Regions from separate parts of the Homo sapiens genome. Here all the other regions are linked to region 5. Evidence: promoter capture Hi-C in 16 types of primary human blood cells and fetal thymus (Javierre and others, 2016). All regions are on one chromosome and are shown on one strand. Each heading gives the region's core, a stretch centred on a gene start or on the middle of the fragment in contact. The rest is flanking DNA. Distances are from core to core; before and after follow the strand shown. Region 1 has its middle 5.7 kb from the start of PNMA5. Region 2 overlaps CETN2 (centrin 2). Region 3 has its middle 14 kb from the start of PNMA5. Region 4 holds the start of DUSP9 (dual specificity phosphatase 9). Region 5 holds the start of ZNF275 (zinc finger protein 275). Region 6 overlaps ZNF185 (zinc finger protein 185 with LIM domain). Region 7 has its middle 28 kb from the start of PNMA3.

What was found. The method cuts DNA at HindIII sites, captures the fragments that hold promoters and counts their contacts. A CHiCAGO score of 5 or more calls a contact.
Region 1: a contact is called between a fragment that was not itself captured here and the fragment with the promoter of ZNF275 in region 5, in 7 of 17 cell types (total CD4 T cells, M2 macrophages, M0 macrophages and 4 more). The highest score is 8.6, in total CD4 T cells.
Region 2: a contact is called between a fragment that was not itself captured here and the fragment with the promoter of ZNF275 in region 5, in 1 of 17 cell types (monocytes). The highest score is 7.0, in monocytes.
Region 3: a contact is called between a fragment that was not itself captured here and the fragment with the promoter of ZNF275 in region 5, in 1 of 17 cell types (total CD4 T cells). The highest score is 5.8, in total CD4 T cells.
Region 4: the fragment with the promoter of DUSP9 here is called in contact with the fragment with the promoter of ZNF275 in region 5 in 2 of 17 cell types (neutrophils and activated CD4 T cells); the score reaches 7.9 in neutrophils.
Region 6: a fragment that was not itself captured here is called in contact with the fragment with the promoter of ZNF275 in region 5 in 4 of 17 cell types (M0 macrophages, activated CD4 T cells, total CD4 T cells and 1 more); the score reaches 7.6 in M0 macrophages.
Region 7: a contact is called between a fragment that was not itself captured here and the fragment with the promoter of ZNF275 in region 5, in 1 of 17 cell types (total CD4 T cells). The highest score is 5.2, in total CD4 T cells.

What each region holds. Positions count from the first base shown.
Region 1 is chrX:152,998,077-153,001,459 of GRCh38, forward strand. No RefSeq gene overlaps it. Among named protein-coding and RNA genes, the nearest start is that of PNMA5, 5.7 kb to the left of the region's middle. The HindIII fragment of the contact is 1,075 bases long and covers 1,372-2,446 here.
Region 2 is chrX:152,826,260-152,829,611 of GRCh38, forward strand. CETN2 (centrin 2) reads right to left here. Exons shown (of 5, transcript NM_004344.3): 2 at 3,343-3,352; 3 at 2,890-3,018; 4 at 2,278-2,415; 5 at 735-1,671. The coding sequence ends at 1,582. Among named protein-coding and RNA genes, the nearest start is that of CETN2, 2.8 kb to the right of the region's middle. The HindIII fragment of the contact is 1,056 bases long and covers 1,324-2,379 here.
Region 3 is chrX:152,978,443-152,981,892 of GRCh38, forward strand. No RefSeq gene overlaps it. Among named protein-coding and RNA genes, the nearest start is that of PNMA5, 14 kb to the right of the region's middle. The HindIII fragment of the contact is 5,734 bases long and covers 1-3,450 here.
Region 4 is chrX:153,645,405-153,649,328 of GRCh38, forward strand. DUSP9 (dual specificity phosphatase 9) reads left to right here and starts at 1,799. Exons shown (of 4, transcript NM_001318503.2): 1 at 1,799-2,021; 2 at 2,515-2,922; 3 at 3,828-3,924. The coding sequence starts at 2,550. The HindIII fragment of the contact is 18,543 bases long and covers 1-3,924 here.
Region 5 is chrX:153,332,604-153,336,232 of GRCh38, forward strand. It overlaps ZNF275 (zinc finger protein 275), which reads left to right and starts at 1,550. Exons shown (of 4, transcript NM_001367757.1): 1 at 1,550-1,682. It overlaps MIR12129 (microRNA 12129), which reads left to right and starts at 2,859; the gene lies at 2,859-2,934. RefSeq lists silencers at 1,344-1,713, 1,804-1,883. The HindIII fragment of the contact is 4,020 bases long and covers 1-3,482 here.
Region 6 is chrX:152,927,989-152,931,829 of GRCh38, forward strand. ZNF185 (zinc finger protein 185 with LIM domain) reads left to right here. Exons shown (of 25, transcript NM_001395254.1): 13 at 587-673; 14 at 3,684-3,788. It overlaps LOC105373372 (a long non-coding RNA gene), which reads right to left. Exons shown (of 3, transcript XR_007068369.1): 2 at 2,987-3,841; 3 at 2,267-2,898. Among named protein-coding and RNA genes, the nearest start is that of ZNF185, 32 kb to the left of the region's middle. The HindIII fragment of the contact is 4,438 bases long and covers 1-3,841 here.
Region 7 is chrX:153,026,991-153,030,496 of GRCh38, forward strand. It overlaps the pseudogene LOC112268308. Among named protein-coding and RNA genes, the nearest start is that of PNMA3, 28 kb to the right of the region's middle. The HindIII fragment of the contact is 1,319 bases long and covers 701-2,019 here.

The sequences.
Region 1 (3,383 bases), core at 659-3,158, 330 kb before region 5:
AGCTACTCCTGAGGCTGAGGTAGGAGGATTGCTTCAGCTCGGGAGGTTGAGGCTATACTGAGCTGTGACTGCACTCCAGCCTGGCCAACAGAATGAGACCCTGTCTCAAAAAACAAACAAAAAAAGATTTCACATACAAGAGCATGCAATGTTTGGCTTCCTGTGTCTGGTTTATTTCACTTAGCATAATATCCTCAAGGTTCATTCATGTTATTGCCAAGGGCAGCATTTCCTTCTTTTTTTAAGGCTGCTTGTGAATATATATATATATATATATAAATAAAACATATATAAAACATATATATGTTATATATATAACATATATATGTTATATATATAATATGAATATATAATATATGATATGAATATATAGTATATTCATATTATATATAATATATATAATAAAGAAAATTATATATAATATATATAATATATAATACATATACTATATAATATATATAAAATATATATATAATATATATAAATAATATATATATAAATATATGTTATATATATTATATATAAAATATATATAAATATATATTATATATATTATATATAATATATATATAATATATAATATATATAATATATAAAATATATATTATATAATATATATTATATTATATATTAAATATTATATAAAAATATATATAAGACATTTATATATAATATATTATATATATTATATATAATATATATAATATAGATATATAAAAAACATTTTCTTTATCCATTCATCTGTCAGTGGTCACTTAGGTTGTTTTCTTATCTTAGCTATTGTGAATAATGCTGAAATGGACAAGAGAGTCCAGATACCACTTAGAGATAGTGATTTTATTTGCTTAGGATATCTATCCATAGTGGAATTGCTGGATCATACAGTAGCATACATGGACAATTAATTTTCAACAAAGCTGCCAAGAATACACAATGAGGAAAGTGAGATGGAGCAGGGACCCCGTCTCAGGGGTCTGCAGGCCCCCTTAAGCATATAAATAAAGGAAAATGTTGAGTTCTTTCAGGGGCAATGCCAGGCACCTAGCTAGCCCTGAGAAGTAAATAAGCAAGTTGATAAGCAAGAAGGTAATAGCTTAAAACAACAGCCAAGGAAGCTACAATCACAGGATGTTTTCTTTCCCTATAGAAACTAAAGATAACATGTTAACATATATCTCTGAGTTGTTTTTCAGAAACTTGGATCCCCACCAAACTGATCAGCTGGCATGCAGACCCCAGAAAAGGGGGAGCTGAGGACTGAACTCTGACCACCACTCTTTGTTCCAAACTTCTTCATGAGGGGCCTGGAGGAAATCACATCCATCTGTCAGAGCTAATATTCTTTTCTGCTGACCCAAAAATTTTAAACAAAGCTTCTCTTGCTTAACCAACTGCAAACCAAAAGACCTTTGAACCTACTTATGGCCTGTAAGCCCTCACTTCAAGATATCCCACCCTTTTAGGCCAAAACCAATGGGTAACCTCTGTGTAATGATTTATGAATTAGCCTGTAACTTCTGCTTTCCTGAAATTTACTCCTACCTTTAAAAGCCCTTACCTGCAAGCCATCACGGAGCTCTGGATTTGAGCGTTAGCTGCCTGATCCTCCTTGCTTAGTGCCCTGCAAATAAATGTCTTCCTTTCCACCACTGCAAACCTCAGTGTGGATATCTGATCTTACTGTGATGGGCAAGACAACTCCAGTTCAGTTCAATAACACTTGGCCACAACTCAAAAGCCCTGAGTGGGTGTCTTGCCAATAGCATATCAGCCCCTGGCTATGAGCACCCTTGGACCCTGTCCAGTAGCTGCCTGAATTATTTTATTCAGGGATGGATCTGTGTATTTGGCTGCCACCAAGGCATCACTGGCTTGTGTTGCTTTTACTTTTGCAGCATTAGAAATGAGACACTTGGCTGGGAAGACATTTTTTGGCAGGTGACAAATTTGTGGGCAATAGCCCCAAGGTATATTTTCTTCAAACACTACGTTCTGCATTGGCAGGACATCTGGCCTTGCTTTGGCAATTTACGGGACTCTGCTTCATCATAGTGTGTTTAGTAGGGAATACTCCATAAGCAACTGAAGGGATGGAGACTTTGAGAAATCACATTTTGATTTTGATTTGCTTGCTTGACAATCTGCCTAAAGCCCAGCTGAGGCATTAAGGGTTTTTCACCTAAGGTCTTGTCATCTAAAATGGAAACTACAAATTATGTTCCTCCTTGTAGCCCATTATGGTGCATTCTGCAGAATCGGGCCATTTTTAGCTTTGAGCCCATGAAAAAGAAAAATGTTTTTAATGTTGAAATTCTGCCTGACCACGGTATCCCCTAGGATCCAGGGAATGGTAGCCAGAATTTAGATATCTAAATTACATTATAATTTTTCAATTAGAATTGTTTTGTGAACAAGAAGGTAAATGGGATGAAATTCTGAATGTACAAGCTTTTATGCTTTTGTACCAAAGTGAGCTAATTCAAAGAAGGTATAATTTGCATAGAATCATGGTTGAAAGAAATGCCTCTAAGGTGAAAGAGGTAAAGGTTTTACCCGGTTCTCAAAAATCAGAAGATGACTTACTACTTCAACAAATGAATGCACCAATCCTATCTCTCCACCTTATGGGGGGCGAGATATGGAAGCCAGAGCAATGGCCCCGCCCCCCTGCTCAGGCAGGAATGGGAGCCCCTATTACCCTGGCTGGACTGGGGAATAATAGTGACGTAAACAGGCCAGGAGTGCTCTCTCCTTCACACACCTGACAGGGCACTCAATATCGTCAGGGAGCCACTCTGGTTGAGGTAGGGCAATTCCATTAGGCAAGTACCCATTGGCAGAATCAATGCCCAGGGTCAGCCAGCGGGACCTGTGTGGGTACACGTGCCATTCTCAGTCTCTGACCTATACCATTGGAAGGATAACATGCTTACCTACTGGGGTGACCCAAGGAGGATGGAAAATGTGTTCTCCATTTACACTACTCATAATCCTAACTGGGAGAATGTGCAATATTTACAAAATGCACTACTTACCTCCAAAGAGTGGAGAATAGTTTTAGAAAAAGCTAGAGAAGAAGCTGACCAGTAACATACTGAGACTGCCAGCAATCTGGTCTGGGCAGCTACTGCTGAGGCTATAGCCTAACACAAGCAGTCTTAGCTCCTCCCAGCCTCCCATTGGCCCAAGTGTCTGGGCTTTAAGATGTTCTCAATAATATTGGTGGTGTGTTTTCCTGCTCCGTGGTCAAAAAGGGCATCTTGGAGCTCACATGCTTGTTCTGGTGGCACCTCAATGTCCAATTTTCCCAGAGCAAAGGTTACTGTGGCAATTAACTTAGTTAACACGTCCTGTCCCAACGAAGGGACTGGGCATTCTGGCAT
Region 2 (3,352 bases), core at 602-3,101, 510 kb before region 5:
AGGCACAACTCTTCTCCCCATCACACAGACATCAAACTCCAGGCACCTAGAGAAGTAGCTTGCCCCAAATTGCCCGATGAGGAAGTGGGTGTGTGTGAGAATCCAGGGTTTGGGCTAGTCTGGGCTCTTCCCCCAAGTTTTTCTTAAGGAGCAGTCCCTCGGCATGAGACTCATCTGGGGGATATGGTAAACTTCATATTCCTGGGCCCCCAAGTCCTACAGGATGTCAGGGTCCAGAGGCATGAGACCGAGGGCCAGGCTTCTGGCCTCTGTAACGTGCTCCCCGGGTAGGGTTACCAGTGGCAATACAGGATGCTTAGGTAAATTTGCATTTAAGATCAACAATGAATAAACAAAAAATACAAATGGGATATAGTCATACTAAAAAAAAGGCATCATTGATCTGAAATGCAAATTTACCTCAACTTTCTTTTTATTAGCTGAATCAGGCAACCCTATCCCCAGAGGACTAGCCTACCCCCAGAAGTTTGAAAATCTGTTTTCTCCCTCTCCATGTGAACAAACGAGCATTCCATCATTGTTCATTTTCTATTCTCCCTCACCCCTTCTGCCTCCCCACTCTCACCCTGGAGCAGAGACTTTAATGTCATCTACCAGGATTTCTCACACAGGGAATCCCGGGCAAGGCCAGGAAGATGGTTGGATGGGGTCACTCAGCCCAACCCACCTCCAAGAGTCGATGAGATACCATAAGCAAATAAATTCACGAGAGGTTGGCTGAATCCATCCTAGTGTTGCGTTAGCCTGGCTCTCCCCATTTTATTCAAGCACAAATTACTAACAAGACTCTTTTCCAGTCTTAGCTTTGCCAAAACTATTTTTAGAGCATCATTTAGGCTTAGGTGATATAAAAATTCTGCTAGTTTTACAAACCAGCAGCCTTCCAAGGCAAAAAGCAATTCATGCCAGGAAAGTAGCAAAGGATTATTCATTTTCTGTCCATAGGCTGGTAAGGAGTTTTGTATCTAATAGGCTGCCTTCAACACAATAATTGAGAAGAGGAACTCATAAGCAAAGCTAAAGAACTCATCCTTAGAGAATACAAGTTCAAACTGAGAAAGGTTTTACTTTTAAGACAAAACAAATAGCATTAACACACATCCAAATGCCAGTGCAGGAGTTCACTGGGTTTATAAAAGAGAAAACTAAACTCAAGTGTCAAATAAAAACTGGAGCCGTCAAGAATGACTGCTTGTGGCAACACAGGTGTAACATGTGCTTGTCTAAAGTCGTTCTGTGTTTGTGGATATGTGGAAATGCATGACGAGGGAAACGATGCAAGGCAAAATGGCAGGTGCTCAAAGCTTTAAGATCCTTTTCTTCACGCTTGTGTGCTCTTGTTTTGCTTTTGAGAATTAGGGTAATTCGCAGGTCATTTTACAAAGAACTGTAATATCAAAGAACACTTCCAAACGGCTAAAATAGGCTCAAGGTCACTATTAAAGTGATAAAGGGAGGTCCGTGGGGGAAAAGTTTGTGTTCTCAAAAGCCAGATTTCACACCATGGCAGGCACTAAATCTAGTTACATGTGCTTGCAGTAGAAAAAGAAGACACTGATCTTAATAGAGGCTGGTCTTTTTCATGATGCGCAGGAACTCTTGCTCACTGACCTCTCCATCTCCATCTCGATCAGCTTCATCAATCATTTCCTATATGACAGTAAAGATTCAGGTTAATTTATAAACTAATGCCAAAAGGTGACTAAGTAATAGACTTTTTTTTTTTTAGAGATGGGGTCTCTATGCTGCCCACACTGGTCTCAAATTCCTGGCCACAAGAGATCCTCCTGCCTCAGCCTCCCAAAGTACTGGGATTATATGCATGATCCACTGTGCCTGGCAAGCAATAGACTTTTAATCTATGTGAATAGATAATTTGTATCTATGTGAATAGATCATTGTAGTCCACCCAATGCCAGTATGCTACTCCTGATAATAGCTTGGTTTCTGAAAAGTTATTTGAAAACCAACTCATACTTTGTCAAACATATCACCTGGGAGGGACCTTGAAGATTGCCTTGACTAGAGGGATTCCTGGAACCTAAAATAGTAAGCAAAATTGTGCATATGTGCATTTTTCTGGAAGCAGGGTTCATAGGTTTGTCTGACTATTAAAGGAGAATTAAGTTGTCTGCAGAGGGACAAAGTACACTGGCTTTTCTTCAAAGAGGTGCTCACACTAGGGAAAATGTAATGGAAAAGTCACAGAGGGCTCAAAGGTGGGAATTTTAAGTTCCAGTGTGATGCATTACAAACCTGCAGCTCCTCATCAGTCAGGTTCTCACCCAACTCCTTGGCCACGCGTTTCAGATTTTTGAACGAAATCTTCCCAGTTTCATCATCATCAAAGAGCTTGAAAGCTTTCAGGATTTCTTCTTTAGTATCTTTCTCAGACTTAACAAGTAGAACATAAAACACATGAGTAGGGGGACACCACGGTTGGTTACTACTGTCCTGTAGCCCTGCCACTGCCTGGTCAGGTCACCCTTTCCTTTTTAACAATGTAACTCGAGTCTAGACTTGCGGCAAGTGTCAGGAAGCCCATTTTGGCCTCAAAGAAACACCAGGCAAGCCAGGCACTCCATCCAAGGTGACGTTTGCTACCTATCGCTATATCTCTCCCTATCCCATATCTATTTCCTAACTGATTTGGAATTCTGTGGGAAGAGGTATCTGCTTGGAAGTCTTGAGAAAGAAGCACAAGGGCTTGTTTTGGGAGCCCAAAGTAACATGATGGGAGGGCAGGCCTCCTGATGCAGTTGCTACCTGGACTGCTCTGTGGTCACATGACTGTTTTAACAGGAAGACGCCATGGACCTCTGCAGATGACTGGGGCTCCATACCATGATAATTGTCTTAGCTACTTACCATTTTCTGGGTCATCACAGTTAAAAAGTCACCAAAGTTCATTTTTCCTGTCCCTTCCTTATCAATTTCACTTATCATTTTCTTAATTTCTTCTTTCTTGGGTTCAAAGCCCAGGGCCCTCATTGCCACCTATAAAGAAAACAGGATCGTCTCAATAAGCACATCTAAAGTAGCAGGAGCAAAAATAACAGTGTTGAGAGCATTAAGCCAGCATCTGATGTGGTCATGTTAATATGATTGGGGAACACTATGACATTGATCTAATTGATATTTGCAATCAATTTTATTGAATAATACTCAAAGTAAGTAAAGACAGGAAAACAGCACAGTACAACCTCCCCTGTTACTTACTGCAGGGAGAAGAGGGCAAAAGGGGTAGAGAGGTGATAGGGAGATGACAAGGAAGAGGCAGAGGAAAGGAAGGGCAGTACGGCAGGAATGCACAGAGCTTGCCTTCAGTTCT
Region 3 (3,450 bases), core at 867-3,366, 350 kb before region 5:
TTAATCGACTCACAGTTCCACATGGCTGGGAGGCCTCAGGAAACTTACAATCATGGCAGAAGGTGATGGGGATGCAGGCACCTTCTTCACAAGGCTGCAGGAGAGAGAAGTACAAGCAGGGGAAATGCCAACGCTTATAAAGCCATCACATCTCTGAGAAGTCACTATCACGAGAACAGCATGGGGGGAACTGCCCCCATTATCCAGTCACCTCCCTCTCTCAACATGTGGGAATTATGGCTCCCTCCCTTGACGTGTGGGGATTACAATTCGTGATTAGATTTGGATGGGGACACAGAGCCAAACCATATCAGGTCCATTCCCTTTGCTAGGCCTCTAGGCCCATTCTGCCTTTCCTTCCACCTCACTGGTCACTCCTTTTCTATCTCCATTGCTGGTTCTTTCTCATCATCCCATTCTCTCAACTTTGGAGTACTCTAGGACTTTGTTCTTAGACCCCTTCGCTTTTCTATCTGCACTCACTGCGTTGTATCACTGGGGTCCAGGCTTCAACAGATACAGTATACACTGCCTCCTTCTGGAATTGCAGCTGCTCCAGCCCACATCATCTTCCTGAACTTCAGACTTGTGTTTCAACTTCCCACAGCTCATTTCCACCTGGGGAGTCTAATTGTCATTTCATACTCAACCATGGAAGCCATGCTCTATGCATTGCCATCCACAGCTCCGTAAATGGCAGTCCCATTCTTCAGCTTGCATAGACCAAAACCTACACATCACCTGCTGATCTCCCACTGCACTTCCAGCCCATCAGCCTAGCCTGTTAACTCTCCCTGCCAAACAGATCCAGAGGCAAACCATTTCTCCCCACCTTCACCATAAACATATTGTCCCCTAATCCCCCATGTGGATGATTACAATAACCTAAGCAATCATCTTTCCTTCCTTCCCACCCTGAAGTGTACCCCAGCATGGCTGCAAGAGTGAAGAGTTTCAATCCGATCACATCCCTCTTCTGCTCCATACCTTCCCCAGGCCTCATTTTACTTGGACTAAAAGCCAGAGTCCTCAAGGTGGCTGGCCAAGCAGGTGCTGCTTTATCCAGCCCCCACCACCTTTCCTTCTTACTCATACCATTCCAGGCATTCTCTGGCCTTGAGCTGTGTGCTGGTTGTCTCTTCTGCCTGGAATGCTCATCTCCCAGATGCCCACGTGGCCATCTCCCTTGCGTCCTTCACATCTCTGCTCAGATGCTACCTTCTTCCTGATCACCTTCATGGACCATCCAATTTAAAATTCTGTGCACACCCATAACACTCCTTATACCTGCTTCCTTGCTTTTTCTCTGTAGCACTTATCACAATCTAACATACTACATGTTTTCTTCTTATTTTATTGTTTGTATTTCCTTACTTAAATGAAATCTCCATGAGAGATTTTTGTCCTTTTGCTCCACTGCTGAATTCCCAGTGCCTATAATAGTGCCCTGCACATAGTAGGTGCTCAGTAAATGTTGACTAAATGAATGCATAAAATAGATGATTTCAGACAAGTTCTGTAAAATTATAAAGCAGAACGAGCTAGAGCTCTGGTCTCCACATGCTAAATATGGTCTCCACATCCCACGTTAGGCTACTTGTGTTTAAATAGAAATCAACTAAAATACATTTTTAAAATCCAGTTTCTCAGTCACACTAGCTCCATTTCAAGTGCCTAGTAACCACACATGGCTAGAGACTACCCTGTTGGGCAGCACAGGCCTAGAATATTTCCATTCCCACAAGTTTTCCAGGTAGAGGGGCCAGTAAGGGCAGAGGCCCTGAGATAAGATTAAGAGCCAGGTGTGTTTGAGGGACTAGCCAGCGGGGCTAGAGGGTGGTAAACACACAGCAGAGTGGGGGCCAGATCATGTAGGGTTTGCAGGCCATGGTTAGAAGTTTGAGTTTTAGTCTAAGTGATATGGGAAGCCATCCATGGCTTCTGAGCAAAGAAATGATGTCATTTGATTTCTGATTTTTAAAAATCACTATGAGTTATATTTGGAGAATGGACTATAGAGGAGCAAGAGGAGAGAGAGAGGAGGCTATTGCACTGCAAGTATCAGTGACGGTGGCCTGGACAATGATGGCAGTGGTAGAGATAGAAGTGGATGGAGTTTACATGTATTTGGAAGTAGAACTGCAGTACTTGCTGATAATGGAATATGAATCTATGAGGGAAAGAGAAGAAGACAAACTGAGTCTAGTTTTGGAATCAGAGCAATTGGGTAGATGGTGATGCCAGTATCTTGGGTGAGCTTATGAGCAGTTTGGCACTGATTGAATGGTGTGGCTTGGGAGCCAGAGTTTTGTGTTAGGAAAATTGGTATTGAGATGTTCTGTTGCCCAAGTGGAGATGTGGGTTAGGCACTTTGACATATAAGCCTAGAGCTTAAGAGGGAACTGGGCTTAGAAGCAGCCTGCCAATGATAATGAAAGCATGGACAGGCTGAGATCACCAAGGAAGTGAATGTAGATAGTAAAGAGAAGAGGACCCAGGGCACTGAGTCCTGCGGAGAATCAAGCAGAGAAGGAGGAATCAGAAAACTCTATCAGGAGAGGCCAGTGAAGTAGGAGGAAACCCGAAGCATGTGGTATCCCAGGAGCCAAGGGGAAAAAGTGCTTCATGAGGGAAGAATAGTCACCTGGGTCAAAATCTACTGAGATGTTGGTGTAAATAAGATGAGGACAGAGAATTGACCTTTGGATTCATCAAGATTGAGGTTGTTTGGTCACTTTGTTGAGTCCTTTCAGTAGCAGAATGGGTGAAACCAGTGTTTCAGAGAATCAAGGAGAGCATGGGAGCTGAGAAAGTGTGGGTGGTAGGCATAGACAAGTCTGAGCTTTGCCATGAAGTGGAACAGAAGAACAGAGTGAGAGGTAGAGGGATGTGCTAGTTAATTGTATGTGTCAACTTGACTGGGATAAGGGATGCTCAGATAGCTGGTAAAAACATTATTTCTGGGTGTGTCTGTGAGGGTGTTTCCAGGAGAGATAGCATTTCTATCAGTACAATGAATAAAGATCACCCTCACCAGTGTAGGAAGGCATCATCCAGTTGTTTGAGGGGCCAAATAGAACAAAAAGATGGAGGGAGAGCAAATTCTTTCTCTCGCTCTCTCTCTCTCTCTCGCTCGCTCATTCTCTCTTTCTCTCTCTTCTTGAGCTGAAACATCTATCTTCTCCTGTCCTCAGACATCAGAGCTCCTGGATCTAAGGCTTTCAGACTCCAAGGTGTACACCAATGGGCCGCGCTCCCCACTCCTTTAGCTTTGGATTAGAAGTAACACCATAAACTCCCCTGGATCTCAGGCCTTTGAACTTGGACTGAATTATTCCACCATCTTTCTCTATTCTACAGCTTGCAGATGGCATATCATAGAATTTGTTGGCCTCCATAATCATGTGTGCCAATTCCCAAAATAATATATCTATCAGCTCCTACTGGTTT
Region 4 (3,924 bases), core at 549-3,048, 310 kb after region 5:
GACATGGGGGGTGTGGCCGGAAAGCAGCCCAGTGCCAGGGTCCTGGGAGTCCCCGGCTAGCAGCCCACTGCCCGAAAGGGAGGGAGAGAGGCAAACTGGAAGCCCCTTAGAGGTGACCCACCTAGCTTTCCGTCACCTGCCCTCTTACCTAACCATGACCTGAGACATTTTCTCCTCTAACTCCATGGCTCCTGAGAGGAGTCTTTAGACTCGTAGTTTGCTTTGCATTTTCCACTTGTTAGAAAAATGCTTTGTGGTGCCCATCCTCGTGTGCATAACTTTGCTTTCTTTTACTTTAGTTCCTTAGATTCCCAAAAGTGGTCAAAGGGTTGGGATTTTTTCCTAGCTCTTGATATTGCCAGATTAATTTCCAAAGGGGCCGTACCAATATATAACCCTGCAACAGTTGAACAGCACGCTGATTTCACAGCAATCTTGCCAGCACTGCGTGTTCTCAAAAATGAGAACATTTCTAATGCAGTAGGTGGGAAGTGTTACCTCGTTGGTCATTGTTACTTGTTTATTGGAGTGGCTTTCCTTCCACGCCTGAAGTTGAACCTTCCCCCAAATATTTGTTAGGCCACCGCATTCCCTCCTTCCTGCAGTATGCAGTGTTTTCAGGTTCTTTGCCCATTTATCTACAGGGGTCTTAACCTTTTAGTTGGGTATGAGCTTTATCTTATCTGGCGTACATTTTCCTTCAACACTGTTATTTGCTTTTGTTGAGCTTTAAGCAGAGAAGGGACTTTTAGCCAGATCAGCATTGTGGACACCTCCCCCTGACCCTGGTCTCCTGCCTCAGTGCTCACCACACCTGAGACCTTGTCCAGTGCTCTTGCTGCCTGTGGATCTGTCCCGCCTGTTGTGCCCATGGAGGAAAGGATGGAGGCCACCAGCCTTGGTTGAGTGGATGGCATTCTGACGTTGGGCAGGGCTGGGCAGGGCAGGGTGGAGGGCAGGTCGTTGCAGGCCCGGAGGCAGGGAGACTGTTGTGCAAGACGTGACAGTGACCTGGCCTAAAGCTGATGAATTTGAGCCCTCGGCTAGGGCAAGGGACAGGGGAGAGAGGCGTGGATGTGAGAGATATTTAGGTAGAAACTAGTTCTTTCCACTTTGATTAGCCGAAGGGGGGTTAAGGGAAGGAGGCAGAGGGGGGAGCCACGGGTGACTCTTAGGATCAGTAATGTGATAAGAGCAGAGTGCCCCAGTTTAGGGCTGGGAGCTCAGGGTTCCTGGGTGCTTTTGGCCAGTCCTGTGCGAGTGAAGCGGGCTGGTATTGGTAGGTATCCAGGAGCTACCCCTGCCTGCCTAGCCCTGCAGCAGACCTCTGGGCCAAAGCTGCACTAAGTTTCTGGTCCTGCCTCCTCCTCCCCTCCGTGATTTCGGTGGCATCCCAAGTTTGCCCAAGCTGCTAGCTCTGAGCCCATTACAGAGATGGGGCCACTGAGATCCAGGCAGGGGAGAAGATGCTCCAGTATCACCCTGTGAGTTGGGCTGGAGGCAGCTTCTGCGGCAGAGGGGCTGGGCTCTGGTCCTCACCCCTCCCCCTGCCTCCCGAGGCCAGGCTGGCGCCGGCCAGGGGAGCCGCAGCTGGTCCCCTGCTGGGCCCCTGACCTGCCCTTGGCCTCTGCCCCGACCCCGTCCCGCCTCGGTGGAAGCCCCAGCTCAGCCGACTCGCAGGTCCCACCCGACTGCTTCGGCTAGCACCCGTTGGCTCACCGGCCCGCCGGGCCCGCCCCCGGAGCCCCGCCCCGGCCCGCCCCTCGGAGTTGTAACTCCACGTCCGAAGGCAGTTTCCAAGGTGGAAGCTGGGTCCGGCTGCCAGGAAGCGGCCGGTGCGCGGGCTGCGCGGGCTGCGCGGGGCTCGGCTTCCACGTGCGAGCCTGCACCGCCGCCCCGCCCTCTCCTGGCGGCCAGGCCTGGGGACTCTCTGCCGCGGGACGGCGCCTCGCGTTCCGCCGTGGCAGTGGCCGTGGCCAGAACGTCCACGCGCGGTCGTCCACCGCCGGATCTCGCTCCAGGTCTCTTTCCTTTTGTTCTCTCCTAGGGGTAGGGGGAGATGGGGGACCGGGGGCCAGACCACCTCTGAGAGGACTCGCTGAGGCCCAGCACCTCGGCGCCTCCTCTGTTCCCCTGGCCCACCTGGCCCTGGGGGAGATCTAGGCCTCGAACGGCACTCCTCGCACGCACACCCCCAGCCAGAGTCGGAAGCTCGAACTTGGGGAGCGTTCGCGAGAAGACCGAGACAGGAGCAGAAAGGGGGTATGGAGGGAGGCGGCTGCGACCTCAGGGTACCCCAAGATGAGCCTCGAAGGGGCGGTTAGCCGCTCAGCCCTCTTCTCGAGGACCCTTCCCCGGGCCGAGCTGCTGCCTGGGGGGTTTCTTGGGGCGCCTTGTTGGGAGTCCTCATGGTGGGGGACCCTGGGCTCCCGCCTTCAGGACGCGGGGCCGGCTTCAAGTCTGAGCCCCCTCGGCCCTCCGGTAGCTCACACCGCGCCTTCTCTCTCTTCGCAGCGCCCGTGGTCCAGCGTGTAGGGAGCCGATCGCCCATGGAGGGTCTGGGCCGCTCGTGCCTGTGGCTGCGTCGGGAGCTGTCGCCCCCGCGGCCGCGGCTCCTGCTCCTGGACTGCCGCAGCCGCGAGCTGTACGAGTCGGCGCGCATCGGTGGGGCGCTGAGCGTGGCCCTGCCGGCGCTCCTGCTGCGCCGCCTGCGGAGGGGCAGCCTGTCGGTGCGCGCGCTCCTGCCTGGGCCGCCGCTGCAGCCGCCCCCGCCTGCCCCCGTGCTCCTGTACGACCAGGGCGGGGGCCGGCGCCGGCGCGGGGAGGCCGAGGCCGAGGCCGAGGAGTGGGAGGCCGAGTCGGTGCTGGGCACCCTGCTGCAGAAGCTGCGAGAGGAAGGCTACCTGGCCTACTACCTCCAGGGTAGGTGCCGCGGGGCCCTCCTTCCAGGGGGTTCGGGATTCATTTGACCTTAGGCCAGCCCCACTTCTTTTTTTCTAAAGCGAGTTGAGGCCCCCCTCCCCTGATGACCTGCCAGGCTGCTTTGAGAGGAGGGAAGCCTGAGTGTGACCGTGGGGAAGTTCTTCACCCTCGGCAGCCCAGTCTCTGAGCCTGGAAAATGGGGAGAATTAGCCTGACCTGAGCTAGTTCTCAGGATGCTCAAGAACGAATTACAAAGTGCGGGCTCCCCAGGGTCTCGGCAAGGGTATCCCCACCTCCCCAACCTGCTCAGGAATGAGCAAGGGAGGCAGGGGTCAGACAGCACTGGTGCAATCACGGCTCACTGAAGCCTCCTGGGCTCAAGCGATCCTCCTGCCTTAGCCTCCCGAACAGCATATAAAGTGTCAGGTGTCCAGCCCGGGGAAATAGTATCTGTAAATAGAGATGCTGGCTTCTTGAGCCATATTCTCCCCCAAGTTCCCCCACATCTTGGGGTCCCACTTCATCCCTGAGAGTCAGGAGATGCCCAGGCAGAGAGCTGACATCTGAGTTCCTCCTTTTCTTTAGCTGATGGCCGCAGTCCTCCCTAAGGCTGGCAGTGCATCTCGGCTCTGTTGAGCCCTCACACCTGCCTCAGCTTGACCCTAGGGGTGTAAGATCCTTTCCGGTGGCTCAGCGTGAGCCCAGCTTCTTGCAGCCCGAGCTGACTGAGGGTGGCTAGGGCCCCACGTGGGTACCAGGACACACCAAGCTGCTGGGTTTTGTGTTCCCTTTGGGAACATTTGCAAACCCTCCAAGTTGTCCAGGGTCATCTCCCCAGCCCCAGACAGAGGCACTTGGCTGCCCAGAAGGCCAGGTCAGCAGGCCCCATGCCCTCTCCCCAACAGGAGGCTTCAGCAGATTCCAGGCCGAGTGCCCTCACCTGTGTGAGACCAGCCTTGCTGGCCGTGCCGGCTCCAGCATGGCGCCGGTGCCCGGTCCAGT
Region 5 (3,629 bases), core at 300-2,799:
ACAATAGCAAAGACGTGGAATCAACCTAGGTGATCATCAGTGGTGGATTGGATAAAGAAAATGTGGTAGGCATTCACCACAGAATGCTATGCAGCCATAAAAAAAGAATGAAATCATGTCCTTTGCAGCAACATGGATGCAGCTAGAGGCTGTTATCCTAAGTGAATTAATGCAGGAACATAAAACCAAATGCCACACATTCTCATTTATAAGTGGGAGCTAAACATCGGGTACTCGTGCGCATAAAGATGGGAACAACAAACAATGGGAACTACAAGAGGGGTCAGGGAAGGAGGGGTCAAGGGTTTAAAAACTAACTATTGTGTACTATGTTCAGTACTTGGATGACAGGGTCATTCGTACCCCAAACCTCAACATCACACACTATACCCAGGCAACAAACCTGCACATGTACCCCCTAAATCTAAAATGAAAGTTGAAAACATAAAATTTCTCAGGAACTACATGTGTGTGTATATATATATACATACATACACACACACATATATACACACACATTGCACATAATGGGCTAGCTTTCTCTTTTGTCTCTCTCTCTATATATACACACACACATATATATACATATATATATACTGCACATAACATTGGGCAAACTACTTGAACAGACACTTTACAAAGAAAGATATAGAAATGGCCAGTGAGCACATAAAAGCATACTCAACATAATTAGTCATCAGGGAGATGATAATTGAAATAACAATGAGATGCCACTTCCCACCCTTTCAAATGGCTAAAAATAAAGGCTGACAACCTCAAATGTTGATGAGGATGGGAAAGAAAAGGAGCTCGCATACATTTCTGGTGGGAATGTAAATTGCACAACCACTTTGGAATACATTCTGGCAGTTTCTTATAAAACATAAAACTATCCTGTGATGTGGCAATTCATCTCTTAGGTATTTGCCCAAGAAAAATGAAAGCATATGTCCACACAAAGATGTGTACATGAATATTCATAGTAGCTTTATTTATAATCGCCCAAACTGGAAACAGCCCAGATCATAACCTGGTGAATGAACAAACCAACTCTGATATATCCAAACAATAGCATACTACTCAGCGATAGCACATTCAACAACATAGATAAATCTTGAAAACATCACGTTGAATGAAAGAATCCAGACACACAATAGTACATACGATCTGATTCCATTCATACAGAATACTGGCTTTCCAGTCTTCGCCCTCAGTTCCCGACCCTTCACTCCCCCCACCACCATCTTGAAGATGCCCAAGGGGGAGAGGTCCCTTCCATTCCTTCGTTCCTTCCTTCGTCTGCTGGTCGATTTGTTCGCTCGTTCATTCATTCATTCGCACGCTCATTCCACTCCTCCCCACCTCCACCCAAGCGTCCAGCCCGCGCGCGCCGCTCCCCCGCAGGCTGATCAGACTTGCCTGCCCAGTCCGCCCCCGCCCAAACCCCGCCCCCTTCCCGCCACGCCCCCTTCCCGGGCCAATCGGGGACGAGACTGGGGCCGGGGCGGGGCCTCGCTCCCTCAGAACCCCCGGCGGCGCTCACGGCTCCGGAAACGCGCCGCGGGGCTGTTAGCTCGGCTGGGCACGGGCGGCTCCGTGGCGCTTCCTGCCACGCCAGGCCTGCCTGGGCCGCGCCAGCGCCGCTCCACCGAGGGCCGCGCGTCGGCCGCCGCCGGGCCTGGGTGAGTGTGCGGGCCGCGGGAGGATGTGCGGGGGGCGCTGGAGGGGCCGCAGGGCGGAGGTGATCGTGGGGGCGGCAGGAGGACGTGTGGACCTGAGTGAGCGTGCAGGGCCGCGAGAGGATGTGCAGGGGGTGCAGGACTGTGTGCGGGGCTGGAGCGAGTGTGCGGGCCGCAGAAGAGTGCACGGTGGAGGGAGGGGGCGTCTCTGGGCAGTTGGAGAGCTGCTCGGCCTTGGGCGGGCCAGAGCAGGGAACGGGTCCCGGATGACGAGTACGAAGAGGCCCGAAGGCCTTCCCGAGGCGGGCGGGGGGCGGCGATCCCGGGTGGGAATCGCTAAAGTGTAGAGGCCTGCTCTGCTCTTTGGGGGACGCTAGGAGATGGGAACCGCTCAGGGGCGGAGAGAAAGGACCCCTGCCCCTAGCTCCTAGGAGCCCGATCTGGAGGGGGCATTGTAGGGGTGGGGGTTAAAGGACTTTTCCCTGGTCTAGGGGAGGGACTGAGCCGCAGTCTGGGAGCTGGGAGGGTGGGCCAGGTGGGAACAGTTCCCGCTGGGGAGTCCCTCCTTTCCTTTTGAGTGGGTGGGAGTGGGGGGGGGCGGTTAAGCCTCAGCTTGGTGGGGAGAATGGGGGCCGGTAGGTAGCCTAGAGAGAGAGCTGTGGAGAGGCAGGGGAAAGGGGGCGGTGAGCCGAGCTCAAGGCCCTCTGTCTGAACCAGTCTTTTTCTGTCGCCCTACTGGGGGCCGCCATCTCCCACTTCAGTGCCCCCGCCCCCTTAAACTCCTTTGCTGGCTCCTCCAGTCTATATTTGGGTGATTAATTATATATCTTTTCCACACACACCCCCCACTCGCCTGCCGCCCAAAGTCCATGGTCCCTTTCAAACAACCCCCTGCCCCCATTCCTGGCCCACTTCCCAGAGGTCCCACCCTGCCACCTTGTTCCAACTGAAGCCCTCCAGCCAGCCTTGACCTAGCTGGGCATGCGGCCCCCTCCAGTCTCCTTAGTCAATGAAACATTTCCTCTTCAACCTCAGCCCGACATTTTTCCTTTACAAGAGAATTTCAGATGGGATTGCTGGAACAGCACCTCCCCTAGGTACTAATGCTGCCTCAGCCCCTCCCCACCCTCACCTTCCCCCAACCCTGCAACATTGGACCTTCAAGTAGAAGCCACTTGCACAGTATCTGGCCCAGTTCAGTACATCCCCACAAAATGTTACTAGGGGGATGTACTGAACTGGGTCAGACACTGAGTTTTATATATAGAACCCTATTGAGCAGTAATTTGCAGCCTTCTGTCTGTGAGGGACCCCTTGGAAATCTACCAGAACTTGTGAATTCTCTTCTAACCATCAGCACAGACTCAGAGATAGTGGGCTCCCATTTCAGCAGGTTCCTGGGCAGGAATCCTGTCAGTAACAGAGATTCTGAGAGTTGGAGAATCTGGGAACCTCCAGATTCTAGACAGGCCCAGTGTTAAGGAGGTGCAGCTCTGCATCATAATCTCCTGGGGTGCTTGTTGAAAAATGCAGACTCCTTGGTCTCTCCCAAACCTGCGAAACTCCCACATGAGTTCTTAGTGAACTCCACACCAACTTTCTCACCCAGTGATCCAGCCCTTACCCAAACCTGCCTGGGCTCCTTGGATGGCCCTGGGCTCTTTGCAATTTGCATAGCATCCCACCCCACCCCCAATTTCGACCTTTGTATCCAGGCGATGTTACCTAAAGGAAGCTATACTTAAAATTTATTTCGATTTTTAGTAAGATGCCATGAATCTTCTTGGAGAAATGGGAACACAAAGCTTTCCTCAATTAAGTACAACAAACACTACAAAATCCCCTTCTGGTCTACCTTCTGGCTTTTTATAGAAAGGAAATAAGATAGAAACCCAAACAGAAAGAGACAGGTGCCCAGGCAAAGTGAGAGGAAACAGATGCCTTCCCACC
Region 6 (3,841 bases), core at 647-3,146, 400 kb before region 5:
CAGTACGGCCAGAGAATGCATCAGACTTGGAGGGATGTGTGTCCGGGGTGGCCTGTGGTCATCTGGGGGAGGGCTCTGAGCGTGGCTGGCAAGAGGAAAGCTCAAAGGGGCCCTTTGTCCTCATCCCCGAGTCTGCGACATCCCCTCCCACTGGTTTTCATTCCATATTTGGTCTGTGGGTTTTCTCAGTCTCTCGTACCCCTCAGTCCCCACCAGTCCATGAATGCAGAACTACCCCTGGCCTCACAAATGGCCACTTTGGATACCCTGGTGGGGTCACAGGCTGCGGTTGCCCCTGCAAATGGTTGGTAGAAGCACGGGTTGGGAGGTTTCATTTCTACCCAGAAGGGCCCTTGCTGTGCCTGAGGGAGGGCTGGGCTCAGGTCAGGGGTGGGAGACCGGGGAAGGGGCCTACAGGTCAGTGGCCCGAGCTCAGCTGCAGCACCAACAAGGCTCAAGGCCAAGGAGGAGATGAGAGCACATCAAAAGGGGGCAGTGGGTCTGGGCGGCCCACCGCACTCACCAGCCCAAGAAGGGGGAGACTTTTCTCACCTGCAACCCACTGGGTCTCTCCTTTGGCCCGCAGCTCAAGAGGTGAGGAAATTGTCCGCCTGCAGATCCTGACACCCAGGGCAGGACTCCGCCTGGTGGCCCCAGACGTGGAAGGCATGAGGTATGGGGGTCCTGCTGCTGTCCTGGCTCCCTGGACACCATTCTAGAGATGGAAGCAGCAGCCTCAGGTGGCAAATGATGAGGCCTAGGGCCGGCTCTGCCACTGTAGGGCCAACAGGTTGATGGGAGGCATGGTCGACCTGGGTTTTCTGCCCCATCTCATTCTTTCACTCAGAAAACCATTATGGAGCAAGCGCTTAGTCTGTGTAAGGGCACAGGCCCGACCCTGGGACACAGTAGTGAACAGGACCCCCTGGCTGGAATTGCCATCTGCCTGGTGGGGGAGGCAGACGCCGACATGAGCATGAATGAGGTCAGCCAGAGATGCTGTGTGCCAGGAGCCCCTGGGAAGTGACAGCTCAACCCTGCCAATTGCTGAAGATGGGACCAGTCAGCCGTGCTGGGGATGTTGGTGGGGGTGGGAGGAGGATTGGGTCTAAGGAGCCCGTGAAGGCCACTGAGGCCATTGCCCTGCCTGTGTGAGAGGGCCACTGGGAATAGAGTGGGGTCACTGGGTCAGAGTCCACAGCTCTCCATGCCACTAGGCTCTGTGCTGGGGAGGGGTGGGTCAAGGAGGCCACAACCAGCAGGGAGCACGAGGGGCTCAGCCTCTGCCCTGGGGTGGGGGTCAGACAGCCAGGTGACATGCAGGCAGGATTCGGGGGCTGGGGTGGAGGCTAGGAGAGATCCGAGCAGGGAGACTGGGCCCCTACCTTGTGAAGGCCAGGGACTGGGGAGAGAAGCGGGAGTGTACACTGAAGGTCATCCCTTAATCCCTGGGGTGGCAGGAACTTCGAGCAGAGGCCTCTCAACAGTGTGGTGGGTGGGAGTGCTTGGGGAGGGCTTCCTGGAGGAATTGACATCCAAGATGAGTCCTGAGCGATCTCTAGGTCCCTTTACCCTCCTCCTTGGCTCCTCCCACTTTAATTCTGCCCCCAAGGCACCAAGTCCTGTCCACTTTATTTTAGAGATGTTTCCATCCCTATTGCTCTGCCCCTGGCCCAGGCCTCCACTGCTACTCACCCAGTTGTCTGCGACCGTTTCCTACTGTCCCATCCCTGGACTCCCTTCCACATCTACCTGGGTGATGTTTCCAAAGGGCAGAAGTAGTTATGCCAGCCCCCTGCAGAAAGCCCTGCAAAGCCCCTCCCACTATGCTCTGCAGCCTGAACTCAGTACCTGGCCCCACCTGCAGGCTCCTCCCTCCCTGGGCCTTTCTCTGTGCAGGCTGGAGGCTCTGCCTGAGATGCCCTTTCCCCTCTTCATCTTTCTGTTCCACCTCAAATGTCCTGTCTTCTGGGTCATGTCCTTCTCCTGAGTTTCTTCCCCAGGCAGCATCTGAGGGCTTGTCGATTCTGCATGGCAGCATCCATTCTGCATGGATGTAGATACAATCACTATGCCCATTTTACAGATTAAGAAACTGAGACCCTGAATGGTTAAGTAACTTGCTCAAGGTCACATGGTCCAGAGCAGGCAGATCCGCTCAGCCTGCCCTACTCCCACCTTCCACCTTCTGCACCATAGCTCATTGTACTAGTTGGGGCAGGGAGCAGGGGGACAGAGAGGGGTGATGGAAAGACTTGGCATTTGCTGAGTGAACTCATTTGACGAGTTTATTCGTAGGCATTGAAGTCAAAATTTCCAGGAGGGAGGTATTTTAAGGTTTGTGATTGAGGTTTGAGAGAGTGATTAGGGCTCAAGAGATTTCCACGTTATATGCAGACAGAATAGAGCTGAAATCATGAGCGTAAACTAGCTTTACATGGGGCTCATGGTGAGCCAATGGAAGCTGGGCACCGACCTCAGTATGCAGGTGGCAGCCACCTGGCCAGCCCTCCTGGGGACAGCTGGGCGAGGGCAGTCTCTTCTCGCCATGTTGAGAGTGGGCCTCCTGAGGGCCAGTTGGGAGTTAGTGGGTGTGCAGGCCAGTATAAAGGAGAGGCAGGAACAAGTGGAGATCCCTGCTTCAAGGGTGGCAGTTGACACCTTGGGAGGGGAGGAGACAGCCCAGCAAGTGGTGGAGCACGCCAAAGGGAGGAGAAAAAGGCGGAGACCAGGAAGGTGTGTGGCCAGGGAGGTAGGCAGGTGGTGTTGACAGGATCAAGGGAGGAGGGGTGGTGAGAAGGCTGGAGTGGCCCACTGGGTCAGCAGTACTGAATGGTGGTTTGAAATAATGATGGGACTGTCTCTCCTGGATTTGACAACATGGGGCTCCCTGAGGACCTGAAGGAGAACAGAAGGGGGCTTAAATTAGGAGATTAGGATCAGGGATATAGTCCAGAACTCAAATCCCAGCTACTCCTCTTATTACCTGTGAAATTTGGGGCAAATCACAGGGGCTTTGTGTGCCTCCGTTTGCTCATCTGAAAGATGGGCATGGGTGATAACAGTGCCCATATCCTGGGGTTGATTTGCAGAGTTAATGCATATAAAGTCACGAGAACAGGCTCAAATGCTCAATCAACAGTAGCTATTGCCAGGCACAGTGGCTCACACCTGTAATCCCAGCACAGTAGCTATAAAACAACAACAACAAAAAACAAAAAACAGTAGCTATTAGTAATGAAGTTTTGATAATTGGCCAATCTGTCAATCAGCAGGGTTTGTTTGTTTTTGGTTCTGTTTTTTAAGACAGCATCTTGCTGTGTGTGCCCAGGCTCAAGTGCAGTGGTGCCATCACAGCTCGCTGCAGCCTCAACCTTCCAGGTTCAACCTCCCAAGTAGCTGGGACCACAGGCACACACCACCACTCCTGACTAACTTTCAAAAATATTTTTGTGGAGATGGAGTCTAGCTGTGTTTCTCAGGCTGGTCTTGAACTCCTGGCTCAAGTGATCCTCTTGCCTCGGCCTCTCAAAATGCTGGGTTATAGGCGTGAGCCACTGCACCCGGCCCAGTAGCAGGTTTTAAGCTCCGTGGAGACAGCTGGCGTTTGAGGATGAGGTAACAGCCCACACCTGAGTGTGAATGGCTGCTGCATGGTTAACTTCCATTTCTTTCCTCCATAGGTCTTCCCCAGGCAACAAAGACAAGGAGGCCCCCTGCTCCAGAGAGCTCCAGAGGGACTTGGCTGGTGAGGAGGCTTTCAGGGCCCCCAACACAGATGCTGCAAGGTAACTCAGTGCAGGAAGCAGACACTTCATTCCCAGAACACGGAGCCCACATA
Region 7 (3,506 bases), core at 110-2,609, 310 kb before region 5:
GGTTCACTCTCAGGAAACTCCCAAAGCTGCTGGCCAGATGGGTAGCCAGTCCTAGACATGGCAGAGACTGGCTGAGTTTCCCAAATGCCTCTCTTGACCAAGGCCTGCAGAAACAGAAAGTCATATTTTCACATTGGCCAATCCTTGCATTCCTCAGGAAAATGGTTCCAATGTTCCCACTCACATCCTGCTTTTTCTCAGAGCTCAGACCTGGGACCACTGAGCTGGCTGCCACAACCAGCCTCCAATACCCACACCATTCTTGGCCACACCACCCTTTTTCATTCCTGTGCCCTTGTGGTTATTTACTGAAGGCTTACCGTGTGTCTAATAGAAGGTAAAGCTCCATGACTCCCCTGCAAGAAAAATGTTCTTATTGCTCATTTACAGATGAGAAACAGAGATGTTCAGTGGTTTGTGCAAAGCCACCCAGCTGCTAGGTGAAGCCAGCTTTGCCTGCTTCCAAAGGCCGTACACACTCTTTCCAATGCAATGGCTTCCTAGGTGGTGAAGGCTGGCTTTGTAGCCTAAGAACTATGATGAGGCTCTTGAGTCAGGAACAGCTAGCCTCTTCCTGTTGTGGAGATTCCTGCAATGAGGAGGTAGGCCTGTGAATGTAGTGATTTGGGGGACCTAGTCTGGAGTCCTAGTACCTGGCTGTCCACCAACTCCCAGCTTCCAGACGCTGCCCCTAAGCATAAGCTTCCTCTCTGCCAGTTTCCAATCCCCTTTCTCTCTCAACACTTCCACTAGGCCATTTTGATGGTTGGGCCTGTTGCCCCCGGAGGCACATCAAGCCCTTACCGCGCAGGTCCCGATCCCAGGGCAACACGGATGCCTCCCCCTGTTTAGCTATTTGCCTCCCACAGAGACTCTGAGATTTTTCTCCCTCATCTATCTGAGGCTTCTGGGAGAAGTTGGAAGCCCACGTGCCCTTAGTACAGCTGGCCTGAGATATCCCTGCCCTGTGCAGTCCCAGATGGGCTGCTGGGGCGCGATCTTCCACCTTCCCATTCCAGGGCCTCAAGGCGGCCTCCAGAGTGGGCTCCACAGCCTGAAGGTGGCATTTCCCCGTGGGTGGTTGCAGTGTCTGCAGACAGTGAGCAGGCACCAGCGGGACCCCAGAGTGGCTGAGGGCACACTGGGCAGGAGCCAGATCGCTGTCCCCCCAGGCAGTAGGTGCGACAGCGGGTCCTGGTCTGGAGCCTGAGGAGAGGGGAGGAGGGTCTCCTTGCTGCAGGAGTCTGGGTGGGGTGAGCTCCTGGCTGCAGGGCACCTCTGGCTACAGAAGGGGACGATGGGAGAGAGAGGGGCTCTGGCTGTGGGGGAAGGGGACTCCTGGCTGCTGATGTGGGAGGCGTGGGAGGGGGTTGCCAGGTTGCAGGGAGGATGGCATTAGGGAGAGGGCTCCTGGTCAAGTGCTGGGAAAAAGAGGAGGTGGGCACATCCAGCTGCAGGGTTGCACATGATGGTTGGAGGGGCTCCAGCTGTAAGTTTTGTGATCAGGGGCTGTTCACCAGGTGAAAGAGGCGCTTCCTGCTGTGGAGGTGGGGGGTGCAGTGAAGGACTCTGAGCTGCAGCAGTAGGGGTGGGGGAGCATGGGCTGTGACACTGGGCAGGGGAGATGCTTCAGGCCCTGCATTTGGGAGTGGCTGGTCTCTGGCTGTGCGGTGGGGGTGGGCTGACTGGCAGCAACGTCCCTCTCTCCCCTTTGCACTCACAGGCTGCGTCAGAGACTGCAACAGTCAGCACACATTCCTGTCTGATCAGGCTCCCTCCCTCAAGTCCTCTGCGATGGCTCTGGCGATGCTTCGGGACTGGTGCAGGAGGATGGGTGTGAACGCAGAGCGCTCTCTGCTCATCCTGGATATCCCTGACGACTGCGAGGAACATGAGTTCCAGGAGGCCGTGCGGGCTGCCCTGTCGCCCCTGGGCAGGTACCGAGTGCTCATCAAGGTCTTCAGAAAGGAGCTCGGGGCCAGGGCAGCCTTGGTGGAATTCGCTGAGGGTTTAAACCAAAGCTTGATTCCCCGCCAAATAGCAGGCAAAGGGGGACCCTGGAAAGTGATCTCCCTGCCCCAGGCCCTTGATGCTGAGTTTCAGGATATACCCAGTTTCCCTGCATAGCCCCAGGGGCAAGCAGTGGCCAGAGGTGCAGGTGAGGCAGGAGCTGCAGGTGAGGCAGGATCTGTAGGTGAGGCAGGAGGTGTGAATGAGGAAAGATCTGCAGGTGAGGCAGGAGCTGCAGGTGAGGAAGAAGAGGCAGGTGATGGAGGAGCTGCAGGTGCAGCAGGAGCCATAGGTGAAACAGGAGCTGTGGGTAAGGGTGAGGCAGAAGCCACAGGTGAGGGAGGATCTGCAAGTGAGGCAGAAGGTGCAGGTGAGGGAGGAGCTGGAGATGAGTTGAGAGTTGCAGAAGAGGCAAGAGAGTCAGATGAGGGAGCCGCAGGTGATACAGGACCTGCAGGTGAGGCAGGAGCTGTGGGTGAGGCAGGAGCTGTGGGTGAGGCAGGAGCTGCGGGTGAGGCAGGAGCTGTGGGTGAGGCAAGAGGGACAAATGTAACAAGAGCCTGGGTCCAGCCTCGGCGCTGCACCCTGCAGGCTGTGCTGGAAAACAGGGCCTACCAGGAACTGAGACCCTTTTCAGGGAGGGAGCAGCCAGGCTGCGAGGAAGAGTCCTTTGAGAGCTGGATGGAGCACGCCAAGGATATGCTGCAGCTGTGGTACCATGCGTCGGAAAGGGAGAGGAAGAGATGGCTGCTGGAGAGCTTGGGTGGCCCAGCCCTGGACGTTGTGAGCGGCCTCCTAGAGGAAGATCCCAACTTGGCGGCACTGGACTGCCAGGCGCTGCTGGACTGCTGGGCAGCGGTGCTGGGGCAGGCGTTTGGAAACCGGGACCCTCGAATGACTTCCAGGCTGAAGTTCCTGACCTGAACGCAGGGGCCCTTTGCCTTCCTGGTATGCCTGGAAGGCCTGCTGCAGATGGCCCTGGAGAAGGGGGCCGTCTGCCCGGCCCTGGCCAACCACCTGTGACTGCGGTAGGTGCAGCCTCAGGCCTGCCCTGGCGAAGCACTCCAGAATACCCTGAGGGGGATGCACTGGAGAGGAGGCCGCCCTACTTCCTGGGGCTGCTTCAGCTCATCCAGGAGATGGAGGCGTGGGCGGCCTCCCCAGTGAGGAGCCAGCATGTTGTGGCCTGGCCAGTGGCCACAGTGGAAAGTGAAGATCCAGTTGCCGCCCAGGCAGCTCCTGCCTGTGGAGATGCTGCTCAGGCCTCCTCAGCCCAGGAAGACGCCAGCCAGGCTGACCCTGGCGTGGAAGATGCTGCTGAGACTGCTCCTGCCACCAAAGAGGCCGCCAGGAGCACCCCTGCCATTAGGGAAGGTGAAAATGCCCCTGCAGGCCTCGAAGGAGCCAGAGGGTCTTGTCCAGGCAGGAGGCCAGGAGGCTGAGGAGCCCCCCGACCCAAGGGGGTCTTATGTTCATACTGGAGGAGTTGGAAAATG